Linked DNA regions of Homo sapiens: region 2 is linked to region 1. The links are contacts of gene promoters, found by promoter capture Hi-C in blood cells and fetal thymus (Javierre and others, 2016). All regions are on one chromosome and are shown on one strand. Each heading gives the region's core, a stretch centred on a gene start or on the middle of the fragment in contact. The rest is flanking DNA. Distances are from core to core; before and after follow the strand shown. Region 1 holds the start of PRH2 (proline rich protein HaeIII subfamily 2). Region 2 holds the start of TAS2R20 (taste 2 receptor member 20).

Region 1 (7,650 bases), core at 386-2,885:
AGGAGGGGGATGGCCTCCCTGTTGGGGTGGTCCTTGTGGCTTTCCCTGAGGAGGTGGTGGACCTTGTTGCTGCTGGCCTCCTTGTTGGGGTGGTCCCTGCTGAGGGCCATCATTCTGGTTCCCATCACCAGCAGAGGGTTGAGATTGCTGTCCTCCCAAAGGTGGTCCCTGACGCTCCTCATCTATGAACTGCTCAGAGTCTCCTCCATCTGTGTGAGTTGAAACAAGAAGAGCTGAGCTCATGCTGGAAAACCCTCCTGTCTTCATATCTCTCTGTCTTCACCACACGGCCGGCCCCTCTCTCCCTGACCTGCCTCTCAACTCCCAACCTCCCCCCTTCCCAAGGCTTCCTAATTAGAACTCCTCTTAATCCACATTAGGGTGGTGAAAAATCAAATTTCTTTACTCATGGTCCCCAGAATCAAGGTTGGGAGAAAACTGTTTATATCTCTGGGGCACTGATATTAGCCAATTCCTGACAAGGATGATAAGAAGACACTGGAGAACTGATCAATTTTTCAGGGAAAAATGGAGACAGAGTTTACTGAGAATTTATTGGGATTTACCTGATATTACCAAGGGAACGTCTTCTTGGCTGACATCTAGAAAAGAAGTACAGGATGATGGGAAAAGTTACTGCATGAATCATTCAGAGCTCATAGTGTTCTACGAGGATAAAGGACCTCTGATCACACCCTGTGCATCCCCTTTGAGATCTCATCAGCCACTCTCTGATGCTACCGGAAGTGGAAGAAGATGTAAGGGAAAGCAGGATTGTTACTACACTGAGCGTCAACCAGGAACTCAACATAGAAGGGCCCCTGTTTGTCCTCTCATGATTCCTTAAGCCTTAGTGCTTATTTAGTTAAAGGGCTCTTGAGTATTTCAATGAAATATTTGGGGATCCTTCTGCCCTCTTTCATCTGTAAATATGTTGTTTATGTTTGCAAGCTTTCTCAACAGGAGCCACCAGACATAGCCACTTAGATACAATCTTACAAATGCCCGTCCCAGCACATTAAAATACTACATGCAGGAGAGAAAAAAATGACAATATTTCACTCTGGTGATTCTCTAACTCTATGTAGACAGAGGCAAGTGTTTACCCAATTCTCTGCCTCAGCAATAGCTCTGACATGTGTTTATCTCCTTCATGGATACTCATCCACTGTCCAGCAAGGCCACCATCATCCCTGTCTACTGGGATCAGTATAGGATCTTCACAGCTGCACTTCCCTGAATCTGTCTTGCATTCTCCATATCCTTCCCAGCAGTCCCATGTCTCTATAAATGCAAATCTCACTCTCTCACTCCCCCGGTACAAATTCTTTATTGGGTTCTATTTGTGCAATCAATAAATTATGAGGTCTTGATGAGGAATGAAGGCACAACAGGTCTTCTGATCCTTGGCATGAGAACTCTTCAGTCCTATCTGTTTTCTCATCCTCCTCTCTTCCCTCCACTTTCCCCCTCTATAGCATTCGCCCGTAAACCCCAATCAGAGTCACAATATCTTCCCCCAATTCGGCTTACCTTCATCTAAGTCCTGAGCTGAGCTGAAGGCCAGCAGGGCCACTGACAGCAGAATCAGAAGCATCTTGCAGAAGGCTCTGGTGTCACTCCCAACTTTATGCTGGGAGAAACGTGTCAGCTCCCTTTATAAAGACAAGCAGGACAATGGCGCATTTGAGCTCCCTACCAGGTGGGCCTCCTCGCCTCAGAGACTGGGTTCTGCTTTGCTTACTTCAGGTCAAGTGTATCCCTCATTTCTTCTGGGACTCTAGCCTAGCAGGAAGGGTTGGGGAGGATGTTGTTTGTGGCTAATTTCTAAAAGGTACAACTATGACTTGGACAAATGTTTTGACGGAACTGTGTCCAAGCAATCAGCACAGTGTCAGGATTGAACTTTAGACATCATTTGTTTTTCAATCTGTTTGGAAAGACTGCTATTCTGCTTTCCACTGTGCTTTTCATTTGTGTGTATGTGAGTTTGTGTGGGTGTGTCAGGGGGTTGGGCAGCAATCCTACAGCTAACAGTGAAGACGGTCAATATGTCTGACTCTTTTGATAGCCTATTTCCATCTCTCATGATGTGTGTGCATGGATATTTGTATATTTAGCTAAATTTTTCATGTAATAGAGATGCTTTCTGCTTATCCGTGAGTTGTGTGAGGACAGCACACTGCTGGGTACACATAGATGACAGAAGGCTGCCCCGCAGCCTCCTCATGCTACAGGAAATTTCCAAACTCTGTGAATCTCACTACACTCAGGCAAGCGTTGGTGCTGTACAATACAGGAAAGCTAAAAAATTTGTATTTTAAAAAATATCTTTAGGGATTATTAAAGCAAAACTGAACACAGAAACCACCAAGGAATTTCTAGACCTAAACAAACTGAAACATGGTTCCCAAAGTGAGCCACACGATGTCATGTAGCTAAGACCTCCACTTTCTCCAGAATATTCTATAGAATTCATCATCTACTTTATTTCTTCTAACAAATACCGTAGTCTTCACCACTAATAACTAAGTGGCCATACTTATATATTCAACTTGATGATTTGTAATGCCTGTTCAAGCCTCAAATGCCTTGATTGGTCTTCTGTTTTTTACTCAGTATTTATGTCACCAGTTTCATCAGAGTTTTCTTTCACAAAGATGATTTTTTCTATGATATTCTAATACTAATTCTTTCTCATTCTCTTTCTTACATTCATTTGTTGATATTTTATATGCTGAGACTACCTTGTCGTTTGTAATTTTCTTCCTATATAGTTTTTTTCTCCCCACATGACTTGTGGGAGATGACATTTATTTAATCTTCTAAGCAATGGTGTATGGTACTCCTCACTATCTTTATTTTCATTTTTGTCTCTACAATTGGACAATAAACTATTAAGTTTCTGAAAAATCCTTCCAGGGTCCTGGATTGGTACTCCTCTTCTCAGCTGCTGATTGCTCTGTGATACCTAGAAATTCCCTGTTCCTCAATTCATAAAATATACTACTCGGTATCACCAGCTGCACTTTCCATTTCAGACCTTGTGTAGGCCTTGTGTAATTTTTCACTTTTTGTGCACGGCTAGTGTTTATTTGAGGATAGCTTGGTTGGAGGCATGGCTGAGAGGCCATGTGACAGAAAATCATAAAGACAAGGCCCTAGACAGATGTGCATGGGTGGATCCTGTACTGTGCATACGAGGGTCTGGTCTGGCCCTTCTGAAGAGTTGCAGATAACAAAACAAGAAGGCTTCCTAATAGATTAGATTTTTCTACAGACAACAATGTTCTCATAAGGGACCCAGGCAGACTGATATTTTCCCTGAAATAAATATAGACATATTTGAAGTGGGAATGCATTCTTAATTGGCAATTCTTCTCTGGCCCTGTGGAAACTGGATCAGTTTTAGCTGGGCTTGATGGGTTGTATCTTAGGCACAGGGTAGGTGCTTAAGCCAAGCAGCTCCCAGTGGGTTACTGGGATTATTTTCTTTGGTTTCACCAGATACTGTTTTCCATTAGACCTGGAGATGAGCAGTCCTGCCTTGGTGATTTCAGGTCAACCATCATGTCAAAAAGGAAGGCCAGAGAAAGGGAACAAAGAGGGGTGCCAGACAGATATTGCCTGATGATGTGGGTAACGGAGAAAGCTGCAAGCCTGGTGAAAGACAGATTTCTCCTTGGCAGCAGAGTACAGGAAAAGAACAGGAAATGCTCCTAAAGGTCGCTCAGCTCAGGTCCCTTCCATGACCTTCTCCAATGTCAACAATCAGCAAAAGAGACTAGCATATCAAGAAAGTATAAATACCAGCTATGCTCTCACCAGCCAAATCAAAAGAAGGGGTGATGGAAGAGCTGAAAGGGACACTGTCTGGGAGTGAGTGTGGGTGAAAGGGAGAAGTAGGACTGCTGCAGGAGCTTGGGCACCTAGAGTGGGTGGCAGCCGTCAACAACACAATTCCCTTCTACTATGGATGTTCACATTCTGAGGTCCTGAAGCATCAGTCTTCAACATATGAAATTTTAGGATTCATCTTTCATAACACATCCCAACTTTTTCTCTGTTACTCACAGGTGTTTACCTAGTGGTTCAAAAATCCTCACTCCCTCCAGGCACTACCCATTAGCTTATCTAATTTCTTCCACCTTCAAAATACATCTCAAATGTGTCCACTTGCATGATCTTTACTAGAAGCTTGTTGTTCGGCCCACAATGCTCTCTCCTGGAGGTCTTTAACAGCCTCGACCTGGTCCTGGTAACATTCTTCCCCCAGTACATCCCATATCAGTTCCCTCACGACAATCAGAGTGATCATTTAAAAGTAGAAATTAGATCATATCACCCTTGTGCTTCAAACCCCTTGTTTTTCCTTCTGGACTTACAATAAGGTCCAAATTTCATGACTCAGCTCTTTCACACCCACATGACTAAATCTTTTTTGAAGACCCGGAAGCTCTCTGAATGGAATATAAAGTAGGATCTTCTTCAACTTCACCTTGCTCTAGTTTGCCTGGAATACTGAAGGATGGTTTGCCAGGAAAGATGAACATTGGCAGAGGGGATAAACTTCTCCGAGAGTGAGTGAATTGCATTGAGTTGCTTGTCTGGCAGTTTATGTACATTGGAAGAATTATTGTATTCACTGTATCAACTAAGCAGTCTGATAATACAGTTAGCAAATAAACACAATGGTCTCTGAGACTTCAACTTTGCTTTGACTTGTCTAAAAACTTTGGTTTCACTATCATGGTAATCATCTATATTTTTTAATTTGATGTTGATGACCTATTAATATATATTATACATTTCACAATTAATTATCATATTTCTATTCTTTCCACCTATCCTAGCCAAATTGGTTATAATAGAAAACATTTTTAAACATTTACTATGTTCCACTTAATCATCAAAACCATTATATTAGGGACATATGATTGTTATCATTACCTTAGTTTTATAGATGACATGACTTAGGTACATAACAATGTTCTTATAAAGGTATTAAGTGGAATAGAAGGCAGTCAGTACTCAGAGTTTAGTGTGCACCACTACTCACTTGCTATTCATTTATTCATTTCATTATTACAATATGAGAAGGAATGAGGTTCAGAAAAGAAACATAAGTTCTGTTATTAGGAGATTATCAAGGTTAAGCTTTCCTAAGACTTTAACAGGTGAGGTGAAAAATATATTTTTCCTGAGGAAATAAGTTTGTTTTAAATCATAAGCACATTTACGTAGGCTTCCATTCACCTGTTTTCCTCCTTGCCTTCATATAAAGATACTCATACAAATTTATTCGTTTTTTGTGATTATGAAAACCCAGTCAATGTAGATCCTTTATGTGCTTTCTTAATACAAGCCACATGCATTTTTCTGCTGAGCCATATTAGCATTGGCAAAACTTGAGCCTGTCCTTTGAAATGAACCAAAAATGTTGATTCTCATCACAATGAATGTAAAATTTTAGAAGTCCAAGAGAGAGACTGGCCTGAGATTTGTGTATGAAGGGATAAATTTGTATACCACTTGCACAGATTTCAGTCTTCTGCCTGAGAGTGCCCCTGTGTCCTGGCCCCAGAGCTGGTGTTACCAAAACAGGTCCGGGTCATTGATATTATTACTAAGGTGTTATCTGAGCTCATGGTCTCATGACCAAGAAAATTAAGGAGTGTGGACACAAAAGGGTGAGGTTGGAGCAAAAGTTTAATAAGTGAAAGAAGAAAGCTCTCTGCAGTGGAGAGGGGAGTCAGAGTGGATTGCCACTTTTACAGTTGAATCCACAAGCTTTTATGAGAAACTGCTCTCCAACACATTCAAAAGCTAGCAGACAGCAAGAAACAACTAAGATCAGAGCAGAATTGAAGGAGATAGAGACACAAAACACCCTTCAAGAAATCCATGAATCCAGGAGTTGGTTTTTTTGAAAAGATCAACAAAATTGATAGACCAGTAGCAAGACTAATAAAGAAGAAAAGAGAGAAAAATCAAATAGACCCCCCAAAAAATGATAAAGGGGATATCACCACTGATTCCACAGAAATACAAACTACCATCAGAGAAAACTATAAACACCTCTATGCAAATAAACTAGAAAATCTAGAAGAAATGGATACATTCCTCGACACATACACCCTCCCAAGACTAAACCAGGAAGAATTTGAATCCCTGAGTATACCACTAACAGGCTCTGAAATTGAGGCAATAATTAATAGCCTACCAACCAAAAAAAGTCCAGGACCAGACGGAATCACAGCCGAATTCTACCAGAGTTACAAGGAGGAGCTGGTACCATTCCTTCTGAAACTATTCCAATCAGTAGAAAAAGAGGGAATCCTCCCTATGTCAGCCATTGAGTTGGATCATTGTAGATGTTCATCCCATTTGAGCCTTCAGATGACTGTGGTCCCATCCCTTATCTGATGGCAACTACATGAAATACCACAATGAGAGACTATCCACTAAGTCCAGGCAATTCACAGAATCGTGAGGAAAAAAGTAATAAACTGCTGTTTTAAGCCTGCAATTTGGGGAATGATTTGTTATATAAAAATAGAAACTTAGAATAGATGGAGAAATGAGGCTGGGCTCCGTGTCTCACGCCTGTAATCCCAGCACTTTGGGAGGCCGAGGCGGGTGGATCATGAGGTCAGGAGATGGAGACCATCCTGGCTAACACGGTGAAACCCCGTCTCTATTAAAAATACAAAAAATTAGCTGGGCGTGGTGGCAGGCGCCTGTAGTCCCAGCTACTCGGGAGGCTGAGGCAGGAGAATGGCGTGAACCCAGGAGGCGGAGCTTGCCGTGAGCTGAGATCGCACTCCAGCCTGGGCGACAGAGCGAGACTCCGTCTCAAAAAAAAAAAAAAAAAAAAAAACAGATGGAGAAATGAATAAAAAGAACTTATCACTTTAATCTCAAAGCAAAAAAAGAGTGAAAAGAGAGTGATAACTAGCAAAATTTTAATAAGACAGTAAAAGCAAGTTCAATGTTATCAGAAATGTTCATGAATTTAAATAAATTTGCTTGATCTATCAAAAGACAGAGAATAAATAAGAAAACAAAACACGACTATGTTCTGCTTTCAAGAGGCATACCTAAAGCAGAAAACCACAGTGACAGAAAATAAATGGGTAGAATCTACCACTAACTAATGAGCACAGTAACTGCTACTTATGCCTAATGTCTATTATCCTATCATTTGTTGGTGATAGAATCACACTATTCCCTTGGACAATTTGTGCCACAAAAACTTTCCTATGTATTTTTTAGTTATGTGAAAGATAGATGCTCTTCCACATGCATATATTCAATTGCTTGTTTATATTTGTCATATTTAACTGAATTATAACTAATAATCACATAACATTTAAAGTAAACAACAGTAACAGTTAAAGACAGGTGATTACAGAGTAGTAAGAATAAAACAATTCATCGAAGGCTGGGCATGTTGGCTCACGCCTGTAATTCCAGCACTTTGGGAGGCCAAGGCGGGCAGATCACCTGAGGTCAGGAGTTCAAGACCAGCCTGGCCAATGTGGTGAAACCCCCATCTCTACTAAAAATACAAAAAAATTAGCTGTGCATGGTGGCGTGTGCCTGTAATCCCAGCTACTCAGGAGACTGAGGAAGGAGAATTACTTGAAC
Region 2 (7,650 bases), core at 2,216-4,715, 69 kb before region 1:
AAATAATTGATTTATAACACTCCCTGATGCCAGGTAAAGTAAAGCCTAATCGCAGTTCAGAAACTCACATGTACAACAAATTTAACTTTCTGGATATTTTTAAAACTCAGCTTAATTTCCCTAGGTGCTCCATTAACCTGATGGCAGAAATTAAATCTTAAGCAACTCTGGGTTCTCCCACAAGCACACTTTGCTTCAGAGTTGTGCTGAAGTTTTGAGGAGGATGGGAGGAGGCAAGGAGGTGTCCAGTCCTTTGTGCATCTATCCCCTGGCATTCTCCCATCCTGCCCCAAGTCATCAGCCCACACAGGTTGCTGGCACATCTAAAGTGAGAATTTTAGGACTAAATAAATCAAATAGAAGTAAGCCCTCACATCTTCTATATCTCACCTGATAGTGAAGAAGTTTGAAGGTACAGAGCTCCACTTCTGCTAATAAAAAAAGAGTAAAATTTAATTTGTAAAATAGAATGGTGTAGCTAGGGTTGAGGTGCTATAATTTATTTATTGGAATGGCATCTTGAGATCCAGCACAGCTCATTGAATTTCCCTGTGGGGAGAGTTTGTGGTGAAGACTCATCAACAGACAAGCTGCTATCCCCCCCTAAAAAAAAAAGCTACTAACATCACATCAATTTCCAGGTTCTTCCAACTTGCGGAAGGATGTGTAGACCAAGCTTTTATTCTATTTTGTGACCAAAGTCTTGGGAAAAGAAGAAAATTGTTAGCATTTTCATGTCAAGCATACGAAAAACAAAAAAACAAAGCCAACCAACTGAACAAAGAACCCAACTTTTTTTAAAAAACTTGGTGGTAAGAGTGCTTTGTTCTGCTTCTCCATAGATAATGATTTATAGAAGGAGAACAAAATATAATTTCTGCTACTAAAACAATAATAGCAAAAAATAAATAATCAATATTGAGAATCCAATAGACAGAGTTAACAACCAGTTAGACATAGAAGAGAGAATTAGTGAATTGGAAGACAACTATAAAGAAAGAAGCCTAAAGAGACCACAAGACAAAGAATGCCAAGCTAAGAGGATAAGAGGCATTGATGCTACAATCAGAGCATCTAACATACTTCTGGATTTCTGGAAGATTAAAAGGGATAAAATAGGGCAGAATCAATGTTGTGGAGATTTTCCCAAAAGTGATAAAATGTATTAATCCATATATTTTTAGTAACCATCAAAGGTCAGACAAGATAACTAAAAACAAATTAACATAAAATGTCACAAGACATCAAAGACCAGTAGAAAATCTGAAAAGTAGCCAGAGGAAAAGATAGATTATTTTAAAAGGAACAACTTTCTAAATGACAACCTGATTTTCAACAGAAAAATGGAAAGTAGAATTCAATGGAATCATGTCTTTAGTGTGTTTCAAAAGAATAGAGGACCTTCATAAACAGAAATCCAAATGATATTTTTCAGATAAAAAATATTGAAAATACAAGGTTAAGCATGCAAGAAGGAATAAAAATTAACAGAAATGATAAATATGTGCATAATTCTAAATGAATGTTGACTGAATAAAATAATAGCGTCTTGCTGAGTTAAATATATTATTGATAAGATATATGCAAATAGCGATAAAGAGACTGGAGGTAAAGGTGACAGGAACAAATTTAGATAAATTATTTTTTGCACTTTTCTATGTCTGTGAGGATAATTTGAACACCACATTTAATGACCCCATAATAGGAATTGCATCAAATGATATGTGAAATAATGCTGATAGTAGTATTATTCATAATAGCTCAAAAATAGACTGCCCAAATATATATTAACTAAGGATGATTGAATGATATGAAAGATTACAGTAAATCCATACAGTGGAACAGTATATAGAGGTGAAAAGAAATGAATCACATGTACATGCAACTATGTAACTAAATTTCAGAAACATGATATCTAGTGCAAGAAGCCATGAACAAGAAGAACACACAGGACTGCACCTATACACAGTTCAAAGCAGGACAGACCAAGCTGTGGAGTTTAGGGTTGTGAACCTAGCTGGTAAAGTATAAAGAAATTCAAGCAAATGATCATCATAGATTATGAATATTGCTTATCTCAGGAGATGTGAATAAAGGTTTAGGGGCTTGGAAAGTGGCCTGGAAGTGGACCTAGTCTGTTTGCAGTGTTCCATGTCTTATCCTGCATGATGGTTACATAAGTGTTTATGATACATTGCTCTTACCTATTTTTGTTTTGGCCCATTTCTAAGTGTGCATTATAATTTTATTTAAAAAATTACAAATTGGGAGAAATGTCACGTAAAAATTATTAATTGCTCTGCTCATTATATACCTAGGGGGAAAATCCACCATTTACGTACATTCTTATACAACTCAAGAGAGCTAAAGTGAATTCTTATTTTAGTTGCAAAATGGAGAAATTTGAGATGCTGTTACCTACAGCCTCCAGATCTTTCCAAAAGTTTTCTTCTAGTTTTAGATATTCACCTCATATTACAAAAACTTTGATATTTCCAACCTATTTTTCCTTTGGCTCCTGAATTTCTGACACAACAAGGGCGCACATATTTCTCAAACTCTTGGATTAGCAGAGTACCTATATCACTTAGCTTTTTCTGCAAAAGAAACTTCTCCAAAACCACATTAGATATTTATATCTCACATGTTTTTGGATTCTGTTTTCTTAAGCTGGGGTTTGGTGGATGGCTCTGGTGATTTGAGATGGTCCAAGTTTTGCCTCTTGGATCTAGTTAGAGTTTGGCCGATTTAAGGCTGGATCAGGCAGGAGCCATATGATTCCATGAGTTACTCATTCTTATTCTGGGAACAGTGTGTTAGTGTGGACATGTTCTCATTATAAACCGGAAAGGAACAAGAAAGCCTAATGTGGAGGTCATCTCAAATTTCGATGTAAAGTGTAGTAATTTTCTGTTCATCAAAGCAAATTACATGATCGAACTCAGAGCCCTAGTGCAAGGTTGTCACTATGCCTGTGGTGGGAGGACACTGCAAAATTATGTGACAAAGGTCTGGTACTCAGGAATGTTTACAAGCTTGCAGGTAGCATTACCAAAAGCCTAAGCATGAGAGATATGTTTCATGAATATTATTCATTGGCTGAAAATCTGGCATGGGAAAAATAGGACTAATTCCACCAGGACGAGCTCCTGGAAACTCATTTTCCATGTCATAAGTTACAAGAAAGCAATTCCTTCCATCCTTGAAGAGTGAAAGTGTGTGTGTGTCTGTGTGTGTGTTTATGAGCTTGTTAATAGTGATGCCATATAGAAGTATTGGTTAACAGCAACCAAATTATAAGGAGTATTGGCTTTCCTGTGGTTTCCAAGAAAATCTTAGGTGATTTTGATAAAAAGTTTAGATTCTGTGTATTTAAATCTGGCTTTAAAAATAAATCCATAGTGATTTTGATCCTAGATTTCACCAGGCTCTTTTAACAATATATTTTTTGTGTCATCTATGTACTGGGTATTAAAATTTCCCCAACAACTGAAGGGCTGAACACAAATTATGGAAAGGTGAAACAAGGAAAAAATTGCAAAGCAATGAAAGAGGATATGTCTTTATTTGAATGCTAGCAAATGAGAATTCAGCTTTCCCTTCAACATCAGTATGAAAAATTTCAGCCTATAGCAAGAATAGAGACTTTATGAATAAGAATTAATTTGAGTTGTTTTGGGACTAACAGTATTTCCCATAAAGGCAGCATTGAACTCATTCATTAGTTTAAGCTGGTGCTTTTCTGTTGACATTGTTCACAGAATTTAAAAGTATAAAGAATGTTATTGGACATTCAGGAATCAAGTGCATATTTAACTTAAAGTCTTGAATATCAGAGGAGTCACCATCAGTGACATTAGGCCTGAATTTTTTACTTGCTTTTTTGTTTAGACATGATGAGTTTTCTACACATTGTTTTTTCCATTCTAGTAGTGGTTGCATTTATTCTTGGAAATTTTGCCAATGGCTTTATAGCACTGATAAATTTCATTGCCTGGGTCAAGAGACAAAAGATCTCCTCAGCTGATCAAATTATTGCTGCTCTGGCAGTCTCCAGAGTTGGTTTGCTCTGGGTAATATTATTACATTGGTATTCAACTGTGTTGAATCCAACTTCATCTAATTTAAAAGTAATAATTTTTATTTCTAATGCCTGGGCAGTAACCAATCATTTCAGCATCTGGCTTGCTACTAGCCTCAGCATATTTTATTTGCTCAAGATCGTCAATTTCTCCAGACTTATTTTTCATCACTTAAAAAGGAAGGCTAAGAGTGTAGTTCTGGTGATAGTGTTGGGGTCTTTGTTCTTTTTGGTTTGTCACCTTGTGATGAAACACACGTATATAAATGTGTGGACAGAAGAATGTGAAGGAAACGTAACTTGGAAGATCAAACTGAGGAATGCAATGCACCTTTCCAACTTGACTGTAGCCATGCTAGCAAACTTGATACCATTCACTCTGACCCTGATATCTTTTCTGCTGTTAATCTACTCTCTGTGTAAACATCTGAAGAAGATGCAGCTCCATGGCAAAGGATCTCAAGATCCCAGCACCAAGATCCACATAAAAGCTCTGCAAACTGTGACCTCCTTCCTCATATTACTTGCCATTTACTTTCTGTGTCTAATCATATCGTTTTGGAATTTTAAGATGCGACCAAAAGAAATTGTCTTAATGCTTTGCCAAGCTTTTGGAATCATATATCCATCATTCCACTCATTCATTCTGATTTGGGGGAACAAGACGCTAAAGCAGACCTTTCTTTCAGTTTTGTGGCAGGTGACTTGCTGGGCAAAAGGACAGAACCAGTCAACTCCATAGATTCACAAGAGGTGCATTGTGTGTTTTCTAGCAGAAAACAAATTGATGGTGTCTGGAACATTTTATATTTCCCACAAGTTTTTCCGTAGTCTATGTATTTGAGTAATTTCCAAAAGTTGACATAGAAAAGTCTTTTACCTAAGTTTATTATATAAAAGTATATATATATAATATACATTTGCGTGTGTGTGTATGTCTGAATGTATATGAAAATTTAATATTTACCATAACATACCTTTAATCAACTTTTCATATAAACTGTTCAGTTATACCAAAGTAGGATAAGAAATTTCTCAGAATTATGAACCCATGTGTATTTCACACATTTTTTTATATGATATTTCATTTGAGGAATTTATGATCTCTATTTATAATTAAGAACTGACAGCTTATATCAGAAAATCATTGCTGTTTTTCGTTGTAAAATCATTGCTGTTTTTCGTTGTAATTTGTATCACGTATATGTACCATAGTGTGTTTAACTGTTTAACTATCATTGTTTGAACCTCTAATTTTTTGGATGGTAAGGACATTTAATTCTAAATCGATGAGAATGTGTCTTTGGGGTAGGTTTTTTTGTTTTTTTTTTAATCATGAATTCTTTTTTTCTTTTTTTTGAGATGGAGTCTTGCCCTGTTGTCCAGGCTGGAATGCAGTAGCACAATCTTGGCTCACCACAACGTTCACCTCTGGGGTTCAAGTGATTTCCATGCGTCAGCCTCCTGAGTGGCTGGGACTCCAGGCATGCGCTACCACACGTGGCTAATTTTTTGTATTTTTCTTTTTTTTTTTAGTAGAGATGGGGTTTCACCATGCTGGCCAGGCTGGTCTCGAACTCTTGACCTCAAGTGATCCACTGCCTCAGCCTCCCAAAGTGCTGGGATTATAGACATTCATGATGAATTCTTATTTTATGTTTAATATAAAGCAAATACAATTATTGTTAGATAACAATGCACAAAATAAAATTCAAGGGTGAAAAATATATCTAGTGTACATTTTTATGTGTATCAAAAGCAATACTGAGGAATATTATATTTAATATAGTATGTTAATAGCTTAGAAAAAATCATTTCTATAAAAAGGATGAAGAAACATGATCATGAGCTCTTTTCAGTGCTGTTATAAGTTTCCATACGCAATTAGAAAAGTCATCTCTTCCAGTTTTTGAATTAAACAAAAACCTTTTTGAAGTTGAGATCTGATGTTATATATTTCAGTTTTTTGTCTAAGCCACCTCTGAGCTCCTGAATTGTCAATTTCCTCCTTTATCTTCCATCCTTAAAATTCCTCAAAAAGCTCAAATTTTCCTTACTTTAAAAAGAAGCTCAATCTAAAGAGGGTATAGAAACTATGGCATCTATGAAATCTATATATTAATGATAGGAAATGTCTTAAAGATATGTTTTATTATAATCTTGGTGTAAATAATGAAATGAGAGAAAGTGTGTTGACATATTCACTAATAGCAAGTTCTATTACAAGAAGAAAATGTATAACCTAGTTCAACAGCTAAATTCTGTGTGACTGTATTAATTTCTGGTGTTATGCAATTTTAACAATATTATCTAAACCTTAAGATAAATCATCTCCACATCTGATTTGTTTGTTTATCATATATCTTACCTGGTACAATGTAAATACCATAAAAGTAGAGATCATATAGATCTTGCTTACTGTAGACTCCCAAGACATAAAGATAGCACATAGAATAGGTATTGAAAAATGATACTTTGATGAACAAGTTAATTGGTGAATGAATGAATATGAACTATATTGGGGTGGTGAACCAATGAAAATGTAACACATCACAAAATCTACAGTTGGGTGCACATTTCTGTTCTGGTTTCAGATTGAAGTTACAGGATTATCCAAGAAGAAGAAGAATTTCTCAGAGCAAAAGTTTGGCTATTCCACAATTCTAGGGGAAATATCACTATAATATAGCAGTGATGCAGCTATATCAGATGTGTGACACAAAGACAAAGTGGAAAATAAAAAGATGGCATTTATTACAATACTTTTTACTAAGCATATAAAAGATTTTTGTATAAGTGCACATATCTTTTCTATTGCGAATGATATATTTATATTGTGGTATTTCTAGCTGGTTATTATATAAACAAAAATGACATTTCATTTAAAAAATTTAGTTACCAACTATCTTACTAAAATATAATCTTTATTTAGTATTTTTAATATCCTTTCTAAATGACCACTTTAATCACCATATTATAAACTGATGGAAAAATGAATGAATAATAATTATAACACTGAATGAATATCTTATCAGGGGTCTAGAAGTAGAGCAAATGTCTGATATTAAAGTGATGACATTTATTTGGAAGGAGGTCCACTGCAGAAATGGCTGGGACATGTGGAAATTGAGTCAAGAGAAGATGTGACACTATGTGCTGTAATGTGTGATATGACTCTGCTGACGACCACTTCACAATGATGTGAGAGAGACAGCATGGTGGTTATCAGATGCATGCACTTGGCTCCCAGGACTTTTTCAGAAGGGCTGCGAGAGGACAACACAGCCAGCATTAGCCCATGGAAGCAACAGAGGACGGAGAATATATCTGCTCAGCTGTCTTCTGTCTTCTATTTCCCACTGGCCAGGGTTTCCCTGAGGCAGAACTACCATCTCTGCTGTTCTGCTTTCCATCATCCAATCCCTTGATGGAGGTTATGAAAGTCAGACCTCATGCCCACAATGTGGTGATCCATTCAAGTCCCAAATGGAAGGGTGATGTGGGTCAGGCAAGGTGCTGACCAGGGGAATAGGAGACAGTCAAGTAAATCTGAGGAAGCACATGTTTGT

What was found. Contacts are between HindIII fragments. The CHiCAGO score rates a contact against its expected background, and 5 or more counts as called.
Region 2: the fragment with the promoter of TAS2R20 here is called in contact with the fragment with the promoter of PRH2 in region 1 in 4 of 17 cell types (neutrophils, activated CD4 T cells, non-activated CD4 T cells and 1 more); the score reaches 8.8 in neutrophils.

The regions. Positions count from the first base shown.
Region 1 is chr12:10,923,221-10,930,870 of GRCh38, reverse strand. PRH2 (proline rich protein HaeIII subfamily 2) reads right to left here and starts at 1,635. Exons shown (of 4, transcript NM_001110213.1): 1 at 1,534-1,635; 2 at 567-602; 3 at 1-209. The coding sequence starts at 1,597. All of the region lies in intron 4 of PRH1-PRR4 (PRH1-PRR4 readthrough), which reads left to right. It also overlaps a transcript of PRH1 not described here. The HindIII fragment of the contact is 3,246 bases long and covers 954-4,199 here.
Region 2 is chr12:10,994,119-11,001,768 of GRCh38, reverse strand. It overlaps TAS2R20 (taste 2 receptor member 20), which reads left to right and starts at 3,465. Exons shown (of 1, transcript NM_176889.4): 1 at 3,465-5,808. The coding sequence starts at 3,894. The coding sequence ends at 4,823. The region is part of intron 3 of PRH1-TAS2R14 (PRH1-TAS2R14 readthrough); the gene reads left to right. All of the region lies in intron 3 of PRH1-PRR4 (PRH1-PRR4 readthrough), which reads left to right. It also overlaps a transcript of PRH1 not described here. The HindIII fragment of the contact is 1,654 bases long and covers 3,038-4,691 here.